Regions from separate parts of the Homo sapiens genome. Here region 2 is linked to region 1. The links are contacts of gene promoters, found by promoter capture Hi-C in human tissues and cell types (Jung and others, 2019). All regions are on one chromosome and are shown on one strand. The core of a region is centred on a gene start or on the middle of the fragment in contact, and the rest is flanking DNA. Distances in the headings are between cores, read along the strand shown.

Evidence for each region. Contacts are between HindIII fragments. The study calls those that stand out against the background at their distance.
Region 2: a fragment that was not itself captured here is called in contact with the fragment with the promoter of ZBTB37 in region 1 in 1 of the 25 tissues and cell types used here (bladder).

Annotation. Positions count from the first base shown.
Region 1 is chr1:173,866,971-173,869,670 of GRCh38, forward strand. ZBTB37 (zinc finger and BTB domain containing 37) reads left to right here and starts at 1,410. Exons shown (of 5, transcript NM_001122770.3): 1 at 1,410-1,435; 2 at 1,955-2,150. It overlaps GAS5 (growth arrest specific 5), which reads right to left and starts at 1,019. Exons shown (of 12, transcript NR_002578.4): 1 at 990-1,019; 2 at 21-73. It overlaps SNORD74 (small nucleolar RNA, C/D box 74), which reads right to left and starts at 775; the gene lies at 704-775. RefSeq lists a silencer at 1,445-1,854 and an enhancer at 1,489-2,688. The HindIII fragment of the contact is 7,781 bases long and covers 1-2,700 here.
Region 2 is chr1:173,188,983-173,191,682 of GRCh38, forward strand. All of the region lies in intron 1 of TNFSF4 (TNF superfamily member 4), which reads right to left. Among named protein-coding and RNA genes, the nearest start is that of TNFSF4, 17 kb to the right of the region's middle. The HindIII fragment of the contact is 4,071 bases long and covers 1-2,700 here.

The DNA.
Region 1 (2,700 bases), core at 160-2,659:
ATACTTTCCCCAATTCTTACCTGTCCATAAGGTGCTATCCAGAGCCACACTGCATCTGCACCCAGCACCATACCTAAAGAGATCAGGTACAGATTTTAATTCATTGTTCCACGGTTCTTTTTTTTAAAGAGTGTTCTTTAAAAAAACGGTTCGTCTTTTTAAACCAATGATGCAGGTAACATACCATTCATTATCTAGCGACAGGTAAAGGATACACTTAATGTTACAAAGAAGCACTGCACCCGCAGTTAAGAACCACCGATGGCGGCCGGGCGCGGTGGCTCACGGCTTGTAATCCCAGTATGTTGGGGGACCACGGCTGGTGGATCACCTGAGGTCAGGAGTTCAAGACCAGTCTCGCCAACATGGTGAAACCCCGTCTCTACTAAAAATATAAAAGCCTAGCATGGTGGCGCGCGCCTGTAGTCCCAGTTACTTGGGAGGCTGAGGCAGAACTGCTTAACTCGGGACGCGGAGGTTGCCATTAACCGATGTCGAGCCACTGCATTCCAGCCTGGGTGACAGAACGAGGCTCGGTCTCAAAAAAGAAAAAAGAAACACTAATGGAAATATTGGTGACACTGCGGAATGCAGGCACTTAAGCACGTGGACTACCACCGACAGCCTTTCATGAGAGCGGACGGCTGATGGAGGCTCGGGTCACGGCCCTTAACAATAGCTTACTCGGGTGACTCGGCATGTGCCACCATCAGAGCGGTTGGCATTCATCATTACTCTCAGATGTCCCTACCAACACAGGCTTCATCAGAGGCAGGGCACGAGAGCCGAGGCTTCTCCGCAGTTCTACTCTAACATAGTCGCAGCTTAGGTCACGCATGCACCATATGTGCAATCCCCCACCATCCTCAACTTGTAGGCCCTGCAAAGGCGCGCGACTGGCTTAGAAGTCCCAGTCAATTCAGGGTGACCTTAGCAGACAAAGGCTGGAGCGCCCCAAAACCCGCAACATTCGCAAAGATAAAACATACCTCACAGGAGTCGACTCCTACCTCGAAAAGACAGTATGGTGCCTGGGCTCCTGTATATAAGAGTTCTTTTGATGACGTCACGACGCACGCTCCCGGCAGCGTCCGCTTCGGCTCCTCCCCCTAACCTCCCTCAATCTTCCTCTCATCCAGTATCACCTTCTTCCCACCCCTTAAGTCCGCCCCTTTTCCCCGCCCTTCCTCGCCATTGTGGGCAGAGACATGACCGTCCACGTGATGCCGTGCTCCCGCCCTCCTCCCGACTGAGGAGGAAGAGCAGAGAGGGGAGGGGGCGCGAGGCAAGGAAAGCTCTGGGGATGGGGGAAGGGGGGGCGGTGTAAGGCTGAGTGATTTCCTTCCGGCACGTCGCCCGCTCCGTGGGAGGGGGTGGGGGATTTCACTTCCGGGACGGTGTTCCGGCCCATTCCGGCCCATTTCCACCCCCGGAGGTAGGTGCTGCTCCTTGACTGGACTCGGGCCCCACACCCCAGTGCCACTTCCCTGCACCGGGGTCACCTCGCCCGCCCTCCGCCGCAGCGCGCTCCTGGGGCGCTCAGCTACTTTCCTTCACCCCGCCTCCAGGCACCGGGCGACCTTCCACCCCCTTGGCCCCCGGCCGGGCTGATCTGCCGGACCCGCCCCCTCGCGGGGCCCCTCCCTCAGGACCCCGGGAAGGGCGGCCCCCTCCCCCACCGCAGCCGGGACACACCCAGATACGCACACCCACCTCCTGGCAGCTCCCCGCCCGCCGCCGCCTGGAGCCGGTCCCTGGGCGCCGCCCCCTTCCTAGTTCTCACCTGAGCGCTGGCTCCCCCGCCCGACGCCTTGTCCCCATCTTCTCCGAAGTTCCTCAGTGACATTTTGCCCTTTAGCCAGTTCCCCTCTCCCCAGGCTTCCTAACGCAGAAGAAAGCTGCTCAAGTGCTGGAGTGGCCAACCCCATGCCGTTCCCAATTCTCCCTTTTACAGCTCTCACCCCTCCAGTGCCGACGGTAGCGAAAGACTTTCCTCCAGGGGCTTCCTCACTGGGGAATTGCCGGAAAGAGCAAACAAAAAAGGCGCTGGTGTAGGCTCCAAAATAAACACATCTGAATTCATGATGGCATCGACAGAGGCTCTTATTGGATTAAAAGTTTCAAAACAAACAATAACGCTTTGGAAAAAGGTCAGATTGGCTAAAGTTGATTGTTGAAAACAGTGTATACACTTCCCTATTTAATAAGTGTGTTGTTAATGCGGGGCAGTACTGTGAGCTTGGCAGAGTAAGTTCCTGAAGTTTCAGGTGTGGTGTAACTATGTAATATATAGATAAGTGAACGCACATTGGGCTTAAGTAAATGTCTTCCTGTTCGGATTTATACAAACTATTTTCAGTAGTTGAAACTGTACTTTCAACTATCTTGTATACAGCTTCAGGTTTAGTGTTTCAGCCATTTTTTAAAAATATTTTAATGGAAAAATGTTGGCATACTTGGTAAATGCTGTATTTTTTCATCGGATCTGGAGAACTAAGTTTCAGGATGGAAGTATTCATCACCACCTCGGAATTGCCAACTTCGAATTTGGCAGATTTACCCAGCTTTCCTAATTTTGACAACTGAACTTCACATTCTCTGCATCTTGGTTGAATCCTGGCACAGCTGTGGGATTTTTCCTAGAGTTTGCTTCACAGCCCTATAACCAAAGTCTTTTTGTGGGGGGGGCTCTGATTCTTA
Region 2 (2,700 bases), core at 169-2,668, 680 kb before region 1:
CCAAAGTGCTGGGATTACAGGCATGAGTCGCCATGCCCGGCCCTGACTTTTTCTATGAAGATTGGACCTAGACTTCCACCTTCCCCCTTGCTTTTCCATAATATCTCTTAAGATAAATTAGGACTATTGTGCTCCTTCATGCAAGCGTCTGAGATCTGTCCGCATTTCTGCCAAACTCTTCTTTGGTATACTGTTTTGTCTCACTGTGCCCCAATTTCCCATTTTGGATAACGTAGCACTATAGTCATATTGTTAAGAAACCTATTCAGTCATAGAGATTCCCTCATGGAGAATGCTGGTTCAATCAATCCATCATGGCCACAGACTCCCAGAATGCACTGGGAGGGAGTTCTGGAAGCTTCCTGCATGTCTGGTCTTTCACTTTAACGCAGGAGTAAAAGCATCCTATTTTCAGGGGACAAAGGCAATAAAAACTGTCCCAATCCTACAGAGCTCAATATATTTGGTGTAGCTTTTTTAAACATTGGATCTTTCTCTTCAACAGCTTTAAAAACCTAACTTGAATTAAGTCAGTATTCAATTGCTAAAAGAGAAGTAAAACAGTGAAGACAGGAAACCTGATAGATAAAACTTTTACAGTACTTTTGTGGTTAAAAGAACAAATAAGCTCAATATGGAACCAACTCCGAGATCTCTTAAGTAAAAAAAAGTTGGGGGGGGTGCAGAATTATACATAAAATATATTGCCATTTGTGTTAAATAATAATAATAACACCTGTGTGGGCATTGAAAGAATATACAATACATTAATGTATCTGAAAGAATACACAAGACACTAGTTGCAAATGTTGTCCCTGGAGAAAAAAATTGGAAGCCTGAGGTCAGGAGTAGGATTGACCTCTACTTTTCATGGTCTAATTTTTTAAAAAGTTTTGTGCCATTTGTTTGTCTTATCTACTAAAAAAGAAAGTAGAAAAAAATGTCTGCTGGGCACGGTGGCTCATGCCTGTAATCCCAGCACTTTGGGAGGCTGAGGCAGGCAGATCAGCTGAGGTCAGGAGTTCGAGATCAGCCTGGCCAACATGGTGAAACCCCATCTCTGCTTAAAAAAAAAAAAAAAAAATTATCCAGGCATGGTGGCACATGCCTGTAATCCCAGCTTCTTGGGAGGTTGAGGCAGGAGAATCACTGAAACCTGGGAGGGGGCCAAGATCGCCCCACTACGCTCCATCCTGAGGGACATAGGGAGACTCCATCTCAAAAAAATAAAAGCCTATTATGCCTGCCAAGAACAACGGCTCTTCCCACAAGCTTATTTTGGCATGACGTCCTAATCAAAAATGTGAAGACGGATTTGTTTTTATGCCCTGGGTAGGGGAATTCCTGTTTCCCACTCTCCTGGCACACTGGTAGCTTCAGTCAAGCATATTCCATTGGCACCTGCCCACACAGACGAGGAATTCCCTACTTCTATTACAAGTATAATCACAAGCCTTACCAGCTAAAACCAACAGGCAGCATAGGAAGAATGGAGAGTCATTCTGAGCCCTGCCAGGGACTGGGCTGCAGGAACAATATGAGTTCAATGTGCTGAGCACATGGAGAGAGGCACTGACTTGGGTAGAAGCAGGAGTCTTTAGCTCTCCCCCTTCTCTGTACTCTTCGTGGTGTGATAGCTAATTAGTGCCCTTCGTGCTTAAGGGCAATGCTCTGGAAGAAAACCTGTCAGAAGGCAAATGACCCAATGACCATAGTTTCCTGGGTAAATAAATGTTTCCACTGCTCTCTGGGCTAAGTGCCAGCATGAATTGCCACGTGCTAAAGTTAGAAAGAAGCCCTCTGTGGAGTAGCACAAACAGCACAGGCCTCAGCGTGCAGTGACAGAGTGCTAATGCCAGGCAGGCAGGCACTGTGCCAACTTAAGCAAGTTTCATAATCTCCTTAGATGGCAGTTTCTCATCTTTAAAAGTCACTAGAAGATCAGGGGCATTCCTTTCAGCACTAGCTTTCCATGATTTAGATTTTAGAAGTTGTGACTTTAAGTTTAATTTAATAAAAGAGAAAAAAACATAAAGCTTCCTCATTCCCAAATTTACTTTCACTCCCTGATCTAAAAGCCCTTGTGATTTGATTATTTTGACTGACTTTGCAAAGATCTCCAAAAATATCCTGCAACTTAAGGAATGTTCCAACTTTTTGAGGTGCCCTGATGAAGTAAGGGTGGCAGTGACCAAACAGACATTCTCTGGGACGATGATGCTGACAGGCAGTGAGTGAGTAAAGCACATGTGACTTCCTCCGTGTTGGAGTCTAGACTTCCAGTAGATCAACCTGGAGGAAGCTGACCTACTGGAACTCCAGACTCAGGTATCCTGTTCCTTCTCCTGAAGGTCACATAGGGGTAGAAGTTTGCATATCCTCAGAAGTCTCTTACTAACATCAAGTTTAGGCAATGTTGTGAAGTAGAAAAAGATGGTCCTTCTTCTTATTTGTTGGCCTTCCAACCATCTTCCCCCTCATCCTCCATACCTGATGACCTCATGCTGACTACCCCAGTGCCCAGAGACACCCCCACAGTGCCCAAGTCAAAGCTCTGAAGAGCCTGGCTCCAACCTCATTGTCAAGCTTTATTGCCACATATATCCTTTCTGTGTCTAATGATCCAGCCAACTATTTGTTCTGATCTCCTTGCACTTGGGTAGGCAGCCTGGTAGGATGGCACAAAGAGCATAGACTTTG